2 separate regions of the Homo sapiens genome follow, and region 1 is linked to region 2. The links are contacts of gene promoters, found by promoter capture Hi-C in blood cells and fetal thymus (Javierre and others, 2016). All regions are on one chromosome and are shown on one strand. Each heading gives the region's core, a stretch centred on a gene start or on the middle of the fragment in contact. The rest is flanking DNA. Distances are from core to core; before and after follow the strand shown. Region 1 overlaps PDZRN4 (PDZ domain containing ring finger 4). Region 2 holds the start of GXYLT1 (glucoside xylosyltransferase 1).

What was found. Contacts are between HindIII fragments. The CHiCAGO score rates a contact against its expected background, and 5 or more counts as called.
Region 1: a contact is called between a fragment that was not itself captured here and the fragment with the promoter of GXYLT1 in region 2, in 1 of 17 cell types (megakaryocytes). The highest score is 6.4, in megakaryocytes.

The regions. Positions count from the first base shown.
Region 1 is chr12:41,259,563-41,264,557 of GRCh38, reverse strand. All of the region lies in intron 3 of PDZRN4 (PDZ domain containing ring finger 4), which reads right to left. Among named protein-coding and RNA genes, the nearest start is that of PDZRN4, 74 kb to the right of the region's middle. The HindIII fragment of the contact is 1,950 bases long and covers 2,191-4,140 here.
Region 2 is chr12:42,142,489-42,148,011 of GRCh38, reverse strand. It overlaps GXYLT1 (glucoside xylosyltransferase 1), which reads left to right and starts at 3,138. Exons shown (of 8, transcript NM_173601.2): 1 at 3,138-3,586. The coding sequence starts at 3,366. RefSeq lists an enhancer at 2,711-2,780 and silencers at 2,941-3,440, 3,521-3,750. The HindIII fragment of the contact is 13,899 bases long and covers 1-5,523 here.

The sequences.
Region 1 (4,995 bases), core at 1,916-4,415, 880 kb after region 2:
AATGCTGTTTTCAAAACTCAGAGAGGCAGAGTAATACTCTGTTCTTTCACTAGTATATTTTCTCAGCTTCAGAGCAATATTATATTGCCCTCTAATGGATTTTTTGAACCACTACAAACCACTACATGATAAAAAGAAAATAAGAAAAAGAACATATTTCAAAGGTGATAACAAATTTCCAAGAGCTATGACTAAGTTCAATTCTAACTACTATTGGTATGATGCTTTATTCATAATGATTTTAAAAAACAATGTCATAATTTTGTAAATTGTATACACTCAGGTTGAAGTTTACTTTCATAAAGCCAAAGTCACTTGATAGTCTTTGCAATTAGAGAATAATTAGCTCTGCCAATACAATGTTTTCATTATTTTGTTATCATATAAATAAATAACAATGTATTCATTGTACCTACAGCCTTAAGTAATTATATGGCAGCTAAATGATAGAATTTCCATAGGTTTTTTCTCTTTCCTTAAATTGGTAAATTTATAAGTCTGCACATATTGTTAACTATACTTTTATATTTTCAAATATTGCTGAAATTGAAAGGACAAAAAGTTAAGTCAAGGGTGTGTTTTTCATGGAGTCAGTTTTGGGCCACAGCTTGATTTTACCTTTGATCACAGAGGTAAAAGCATGTTGATGGATAAATGTAAACCTATTATCAATACAAGGGGAAAGGAGGAGCCTCCTTCTTGTATTTTAAGGTGTGGGATTATATATGATAAATATTTTATTGTATAGTTTATACTAGTAACTTGCTTTTAAATTTAATATAAGCACAAAAATTCATGTGATTGCTAATTCTTATTTTCTACCAACATTTTGCTTTTAACTTATTGATAGACTCTATTTTCATTTTCTTTAGAGACTGAATTTTGCTCTGTTGCCCAGGCTGGAGTGCAGTGGTGGGATCTCGGCTCACTGCAACCTCCGCCTCCCAGGTTCAAATGATTTTCCTGCCTCAGCCTCCTGAGTAGCTGGGATTACAGGCAAATGCCACCATGCTCAGCTAATTTTTGTATTTTTAGTGGAGACAGGGTTTCACCATGTTGGTCAGGCTGTTCCTGAACTGCTGACCTCAAGTGATCCTCCCGCCTTGGCCACCCAAAGTGCTGGGATTACAGGCATGCAACACCATGCTGGCTAATTTTTGTATTTTTAGTAGAGGCGGGGTTTCACCATATTGGCCAGGCTGGTCTTGAACTCCTGACCTCAAGCAATCCGCCCACCTCGGCCACCCAAAGTGCTGGGATTACAGGCATGAGCAACCGCGCCCAACTATTTTCATTTTCTTTAAGTGAATACAAGATACATTTTGATAAAAAGGCTTTATCAGTACATTCCCCCACCACCACCAAAAAAAGGTATCAGCATGACTAATTCATTTTATATGTCTCATTGATACATGTACGTGTGTGTACACACACACACACATTATTTTTGCTTTGAGACTTCACTAAAGGAATCAGTAATAATTTCGAGGAATCACTGAAGTTACCTTAAGCATGAGGTAATCTATACCATGTAAATTTTATTAAATAGTATATACTATGTGGTTTAGTTAGTGAGATATATTTTATATATATATACATATATACAGTATTTTTTATCCCTACTTAAAAAATCAGGCTAAAAATGGTAACTTAATTGACTGACCTATTAATCTTTAAGATTTGTCTTCAATTGAATTCTAGAAACGCCGACATCTTATCTTGCTCTAGTGATCTACATTTACCTTCTAATAATTTTACATAGAATCCATCTAAAATGATATTTCACTATTAAAATTATCTAGCATATCTAAACAAACAGTATTCAGCTCATGACTAGTTTCCCCTTGAGTTTTCTCTGTCAGTGATCACTTCTATAGTTTTACTTAATGGTGTTTATTAACCAATAGCAATTTCACCCTTTCAAAATCCAATCTTCCTTCAAATATCATCACAAATTCTATGTCTTCAATGGAAGTTGTATCTTTGTATCTTTTAGTCTGTACCTCTACAACCATACTGATGCTATTGCATAAGAAATTATTATAAGAATTACACATTACAAAATAACTGAATTTTTTTCCAGCTCCCTCACTTACTTGAAAGTTTCTAAAAATCACAAACCTTGACTTACTCATTTTTGCATACTCAGGCCACGGGCATTCCATTTTATGAAGACACTCAACAGAAGCTTCTTAAACAGAACCAAATGTATGATAACACATCAGACAAGGGCCAGCAAGTGAACGTTGTGGACACATAGGTGACTGCTTATCTCAGTGCATGGCCGTAGACAGATTGTGGTCATGGTCTTTCAGCAGGCAAAACTATAATGAATGTTACAGCACTGTATCATCAATCAGCACCACTGGGAAATGGAAAAAGAGTTCCAGAAGTCCTCGTTTTGGAGAAGACGCTAATTTAGGGAACTGGACCAGTCATCTGGGAGGCATGAAGGAGTACAAATGGAATCACGGGGGAGGCAATGGAAGGATGAAGATTGGAAGAGAAATTGCAATCACCGGACAAATGTCCAGAGTTTAATGGGGAGCCAGTGAGCCCATCTTCAGGACTTCAGGCTGCCCATTCTGTACCCTTCCCATTCTTGCCCACCACCACAGATACTATTCTCCCCATCCCATGTTCTCTGGCATGGATCTGCCAGCATAAGAATGCGTTCCTCTTTCTTACATTACACTTCATTGTAAATTGCTGGATTTGGTAGAACTGAAGAGATTTCAAAACAATAAAAAGAGAAATAGAACTATTTGAGGCCGGGCACGGTGGCTCACGCCTGTAATCCTAGCATTTTGGGAGGCCGAGGAGGGGGGATCACGAGGTCAGGAGATCGAGACCATCCTGGCTAACACGGTGAAACCCTGTCTCTACTAAAAATACAAAATATTAGCTGGGCGAGGTGGTGCACGCCTGTAGTCCCAGCTACTCGAGAGGCTGAGGCAGGAGAATGGCGTGAACCCGGGAGGCAGAGCTTGCAGTGAGCCGAGATCGCGCCACGGCACTCCAGCCTGGGCGATAGAGCGAGACTCCATCTCAAAAAATAAGAAAACAAACAAACAGAGAAATAGAACTACTTTGCCTTTGTGAAAGAATGAAATCTAATTTCTTTAATTGCTAAATCTTGATTAAGCCTTCAACTTCTGATGAAGCAGAACTCATCTATCACAAGTTATTAGATTTCTAACAAATAATCCACATGGAATGGGGCTTACACATTTTCCCTTAGGTATATTTTAAAGAAATTTGTAACTGCCTCCTACTAAATACTACAGTTTACATTCTTCACAAATATTCTGAATACGTTTTTCGAAATGCAACGAAAGGTAGTTTTTTTTTTCTAATAAAAATTGATACAAATTAGGATGAGAAACTCTAGGGAATTCCTGAACCCCTAGAAAATTTGCATATCCCTAATAAACCAAGAGGACAGAGAATCCTATGTCTTTTAAAACTGGGATGTGCTATGGAATTTATGAGGCAACATAATAAATATAGTGCATCTTTCTGCATCACCAATTTAACTCAATTAATAGAAACATGTTTTTTTCTAATTAAAAGGGAGAGATAAATCATGGAATTTGATTTCCATAAAACACAAGATTTAAAACTATCTTGACTACGGGGGGTGATATTGTAGAAAATCAGCAGAACCACGGGGTTAGAAGCTCGTTATTTTCTGTCAGGGATATTTCAAGTATGAGAAATGTTAATGTTTCTCTGTGGATGAAACTAAGGAAGTGCAGACTATAGAAAATCCAAATTATGACTTCAATTGTACACAAGTTTATATAAGATTCTTATTACTGACTTTAAAATATATAATAGCATCACCTTATCTAGACTCATAGTGGGCACAACAGACCATCAGTTAAGTATTTTGATGGAACTAATAAAACATTAACTTTTCTTTCTTATTTGCTGAAAATGTAGCAAATAATATTTTTAATATTAAGAAATGTGTCTTTACTAATACTTAAATAAGGCAACCTTAGTTTCATAATGCTGTTATGTAAAAAATATAATTTTATATTAACTCATGTATAATTGGGGTCATAACTTACATATGCTACATTCTGAATTTCTTTAAGCCCTTAGTTTATTTTAGTTTCGAAATAAAATAAAGCTTCACAATTCCACTCAATTGTACTGCTTGTTTAATCAGAGACCACCCACAAAAGATGGCACTTCTCATACCCTTTGTTTAGTGGACACTCCCCACTCCACACATCTCTGCTGTTATGTTAGGGAAACTATACAAAAATGCTGCTAGAAAATAGGATGAATGAAGTATTGTTGTTCCTATCCTAATACGTAAGTCAAAAAATAAAAAGTAAAACACATGAAAAGGAAATCTTTCTAAAAATATGATCCAAAGAATTGGCCAAAAGAAAGAACAATCTGAAAGATCTTACTTTTGAAATGTGAATTTAATTGCTTTCAGTATTTTTGATAGAAAATGCATTAGATTATTTTCATTAACCTAATACAAAACAATTCCAAAGATTGCTTCCAGATACTCCAAACAAATAAGTTTGCCAACAGTATTCTAAAATAAAGTAGAAAATGTCCTAGTATGATTCTAAGCTGTTCCTTCAAGGTCAGCATTCTCTCTTATCAGAAATATAGATGAAAAAGACATCTGTAACTGACACTTCGATTTCTATAGATTTGCTTGCAAAATAAATAGAATTTATAATCCTAGTAAGTGAAATAGTTACCAATGAAGATATCTAAAAGAGAGGGCTAAAACTAAGCTGATTAGCTTAAAAGTAGCCCTCTAGACTAAACTCATTTGTGAACTAATTACATGATGCAAAGTAATCAGTCCGGCCAATATACTCATATTTTTTTAAGATTTTATTTTTATTTTAAATGCTTAACATAGTTTTCAGACTTGTTTCTCTTGTGTCTTGAAGTCTTTGTCCACAGATGTGGTTATAGTCTGCAACAAAGGTCATCTGAGAGCCTAAGCAGGTACTG
Region 2 (5,523 bases), core at 1,889-4,388:
CATGTCTTTTTTTTTAAGGAATCAAGTACTTAAGGTAGAAGTGTAAAGAAAATGCTGAGCAGGCCCCCAAATCTGCTCTAGACTGATTTAGAGAAGACATTTTAAAAAAATGAAAATGGGAGCCGGGCGCAGTGGCTCACGCTGTAATCCCAGCACTTCGGGGAGGCCGAGGTGGGTGGATCACGAGGTCAGGAGATAGAGACTATTCTGGCCAACATGGTGAAACCCCGTCTCTACTAAAAATACAAAAAATTAGCCGGGCCTGGTGGCACGCACGCGCTTGTAGTCCCAGCTACTCAGGAGGCTGAGGCAGGAGAATCACTTGAACCCGAGAAGCGGAGGTTGCAGTGAGCTGAGATTGTGCCACTGCACTCCAGCCTGGTGACAGAGCAAAACTCCATCTCAAAAAAAAAAAAAAAAAAAGAAAACGCCCATTAATTGAACGCCTATTATATATCCAGGATGTACTAAGAGCTATACGAAAAATCAAGATTAATCTTTTAAATATAAAATTATTGAGATGTGGCTTAATTCTGAATCAGAGAATTTTCCAGATCATGGAGATCTCTATCTCCTAAACAACAAATATTGATAATTTTAAATTACTTTTTCTCCACCTAAATTTACCTATTTGATACGATGAATGAAGGTCAACATGGATTAAAAATTTGGATATCAGTCTATCATTAGAGAATTAAGAGACTGGTATAGAGAGAAAAAAATAGATTTAGGAATACATACCTTCACGCAGTACATGGAAGAAACACCTAACTGTTGTGACATCAAATATGTTAAAGCGCTTTCATTAACTTAATTTTAGGAATATCAAAATGCAACGTGTAAATCCGGTTAATAATTAGAGGGGATGCCAGCATGCACACAGCTCCTCCAAGATAGCCAGTTAAGATGATGTGTGAGTAATAGAAAAATCATTTCTATTTTTGGAATGGTTTATATAATTTTTCAACAGAAAATTACAGGATTAGAAGGAACCTAAAAGGATGATATGGTCCAGTACCCTGACGTCAATAAATGAGTGGCTATTTTTCCTGATTTGCTCTTTTCATAAAATTGTTGCAGAAATGAAAACTGCTTGCCTTCTCTTTTTGCCATTCCATTATTTTAACCATCTGTGGGTCAAGGAGTTATTCTTAATTATTACTACGTTTAGTTTCTTTGTTGAAATAGAGAAGAGTTATAGTTAGTATCTTTTAAATTAAACATTTTTTGAGTACTAGCTCTTACTCTAGTTTCTTGGTACCATATCTTTCAGCTTTCTCTCAAAAGGTATTTTCATTCTTATCAATGCTTTTCCTATCATTCTGGATACTTCGTTAAGTTTATCTTCATTTCTCTAAGAAGTGTAAGGTGTAGTGGAAGTATTAATTTAGTATACTTGTGGTTTCTATTTGCCTGTTTTCCCTTTGAGAGCAGTACACTCCTTTTATTTCTGAATACTCTGCATCAGAGCCCCTTGTCTGGCATGTAGAATATGTTCAATAAATGTTTATTGAATGCATAAATGTATGTTCTCATTCTCTTTACACATCTTGATAGCATGCTAATGTTCATTTTTTATCAGGTAAAGCAAGAAGGGGAGGAAGTTGAACCTTAAATTTGTTTAGTGACTTTATCATGGTCACAGAACCACTACTTTTTTGGTATAGGGAGCCAAGGATCCAAATGGAGACTGCTACTATTTTGCGCAGCATTTCCCCACCTTGTATCTCATGGCCAAACTTTTCAACGCCCCAGATGCAATTTCAGCAGTTAAACGCATGATTTTTCCCCATGAATGTGTGTTCGTGTGTGTGTGTATTTTTAAGTATCCCTTCCCTCACTTTTTGGCACTGGTGCTGCTTTCTGCCTCCAATCTCTCCTCTCTCTGTTTCAGCCTCCACACTACAGCCAGAATCTGCTCTCTAAAATGCAATTGTGATCATGTTACTTCCCTATTTAAAAACCCTTCAATGGTTCACTAATGTCTTGCAGATTAAATTCAAACTCCTTGGTGTGCTAAACAAAGCACTCAAATATCTGGCCCCTTCTACGCGCTTATCGCTCATCATACCCTCTCTTGCATTCACTTAGCTGGTGGTATCAAACTTCTCAACAGTTCCCTACACAAGAGCCTGTTTATTGATCCTTCAGCCTGGAATTACTTCCCTTACCCGACTCAAGACTCTAGCGCCACCTTTGCTATGAAGTCTCTCTTGACCATACTCACAGATAGAACTGATTGTTCCTTTGTGTGTATGCCCACACCCTTACAGGCCTGGATCTTAAGTCTGTTATCACTGCGTTGCGCTTATTTACAAGTATCCGCTGTCCCACCCACGCTCCACTTAGGCCTCTTTATACCCCTAGGTACTCACACAGAGCTTGGCACAAGTGATGCTTTATAAATGGTCAATGAATGAACGTAGTGGAAACACAGAAGAAGAGGGAGAAGAACTGGGGAAGAAAGAAGCTCTGTGGAGAGAATACTAATTGTTTTGCACATGAAAATAATGAGTTGTGAGGGAGGTCAAAAAGGTCAAAGGGAAGAGCCCTGCCTTACAGGAACTCACTGTCTGCTGGGAGGCAAGAGGTAAGGTCCGCATACCAAACACACGAAGCAATGAGCTTATCGGGGTGAAAATGGCTCGTGCACATTATAGTATCACAGAAACTTAGAGGCTGGGGGAGGATGGAGAGGAAACTGGCCTAGTCAAGTGTCTTCTAAGTGTTAGGCGGTTTTCGAGCGTTAAACAGTTTAATCTTTACAACCACCCCATGATGAGGATAGTAGCTCCATTTTAGGGACGAAGAAACATGCTCAGAGAATTTAGGTTGCCCAATGTCACAAACTACCATGTGGAAGGACCATAATTAGAATTTAGGTCAACTGCCTCCAGAGCCCTGAGGCTTTCGCTCCCCCTCTCTCGGCGGTCGAGACCCACAGGGCTCCCATTCACCTGCGCGTCGGCCTGCGCTAGCTATAGCCCTCAGGCGCGCCGCGTTCCGCGCACTCACACCACCCTCTGCGCGCCAGCCCTGCGTCCCTCCCACGCGAACTGCGCCGGCGCGTCCAGCCCTCCCGCCCGGGGGAGGGGCGGGGTTGCGTCGCTGCCGCTGACCCTTGAGCGCGCGGCGGCAGAGGCGGTGTCCAGGCTTCCGGGCGGGTAGTCCTTCGGCTCCGGAGCCGCGACTGCGCTCGCCTAGGTGGTGGGCGGGGAGGGAAGGAAGGGAGCGGGCGCAAGGCGGCGGCGGCGGCTGCGGGTGAGGAACTTGTTGCGCCCGCGGCTGCGCGGTGCCCCTCCCTCCGCTCCAGTTCGTCGGGGCGGGCGCGGCGGCGGCGGCGAAGGAGGAGCGCGGCCGGGGCGATGCGGCGCTACCTGCGCGTCGTGGTGCTGTGTGTGGCCTGCGGCTTCTGCTCGCTCCTTTACGCTTTCAGCCAGCTCGCCGTGTCCCTGGAAGAAGGAACGGGCGGCGGTGGCGGGAAGCCGCAGGCCGCGGTGGCTTCCTGGCTCGCGGGCGGCGGACGCGGCGCCGTGAGAGGCGCCGGCGTCGCGGGCCCCGCAGCGCATCCCGGCGTGTCGGACAGGTACGGGCAGTTCCCGGTGTGGGGGACGCGGCGGGCGCGGGGCGCTGGGCGCGGGCTCGGCCTAGCCCGGGCTGCTCGCCGGTGGGTGCCGCGTCTCCCGCGTCTTTCCTCCTGTCTCTGACCCCTCACTCATTTCCCTCCTTCCCCTCCGGCCGGGGCTAAACCTGCGCTGCTCCCGCCTGAGAGTGTCCTACACTTTCTGTGTTTATCTTTTGACCCAGTCATGCGCCCTTTAAAGCAGTTAGAAATTAATTTTCAACTTTTTAAAAAGAGGGTTCTTTGAAAATAAGAGGTGTCCACAAAAGCCTTACTGCTGCCTGGCTAGTGAGAATTTCCTCTTGTTTCAGTGGAGTTCAAGTTGAGATATTTAAACATGAGGCTGGCGCCCTAGTTCAGTGTTTAAGGATTGTGTGTGTGTGTGTGAGTGTATATGTGTGTGTATTTTGTCCCTCATGCTGATTTTCCTGTGTTAACGCTTACACTTCTAAGTATTAGCCATGGTTAGTTAAATTTGGAAATGGCATTTGTGCGGGTTGTGAAATTTTCTTTTGGAAACACTCAGTTTATTAAGAAACTTAGAGCAAATTAAGAAAAATGAGCGATACTTGGCGTGCTCAAGTCTGTTGTTGGATGGGATGGAGTTACCTTTCTTGACAAATTGGTATTTAAAAAGCGACGTAATGACTTAGGACGTAATCACTGCCAGAGTGGGAATCAACATGAGATTTAAATAGAAAAAAAATGTTTCTGTCAACGCATTATGAATGCTTGAAATCTGAGCGTTTGCACTGCCTTGCAACATGGACACTTCCACCTTATGTATGGGCATCTCTCTGGGAATGACCTGAAGTGCTCCCTACCAAGACTTGGCAAATGCTGCTTTGATATAGAGAAGTATAGGGTTTGTCGGAAGAGGGAGTATAGATCAGTTGTGGGCTGTTGTTTAACATCATTTTGAGAGTCGATGGTCATTCCCAGAATGAAAGGGGAAAGTTTGGGCAGAGGAGCAGCGTGGAAAGCGGACTTGTCATGTTTTTACCCTGAGATTTGATTACAGTCAGGGTAATTCCTACATCAGGACCCTCAGTTGTCTGTCCTGGGAGAAAGCAGTCACTGAAGACTTGAATGAGCTCGTGAAAAATGACAGGTTGAAGCTAAACTGTTTATGGCCTAGTATGTTATTGTGAAGCATTTGCAATTATGGAAAAGGAATTATTTTTATATGGGGTAGAATTGTAAGGAAGCAACATTTTAATTAAATATTGAATGAAATTAGACTGATGTTAACATCACATTTTTAGTGCCTTGGTCTTAGATATTTTATTTTGTGACAGAAATTTACAAATTTTGTTTGCTTGACCAGCTAATTTTAATAAAATTATTTGAAATTTTCGAAAATAGCCTCAGTTTTAATAAACATCCAATATAATCATTACTGAAACGTTAAGTTTTATGTGTCAGGATTGAGTCAACCGAAATACTGTACTTTTTTAGGTCCTTTGAGTAGCATTACTCTTTATTTTAAATGAGGCGTACATCTAAGTTAGAACTATAGGTGTATTTATCTCTCTTTGTAAAAATGTGATGAAGAACAGCATGTCACCACATTTGCGCGCATAAGAAACCATTTGGGCAGGGGAACAACGTGGAAAAGTTGGATTGTGAAGTTTTACTCTATGGTTAGATTAAGATCACGCAAATTACTAAGACCTCAGGACTCTATTTTGTATATCGTCATTTATAACATCTTTATAGAAATGTCATAGAATTAAATCAACTTTTGGCAACGCTCGGTAGCTCACGCCTGTAATCCCAGAATTTGGGGAGGCTGAGTGGGGATGATTGATTGCTGGAGGCCAGGAGTTTGACACCAGCCTCGTCAACAACCCATCTTTACAAAAAATAAAAAAATTAAAAAAAAATTAACTGAATGTGGT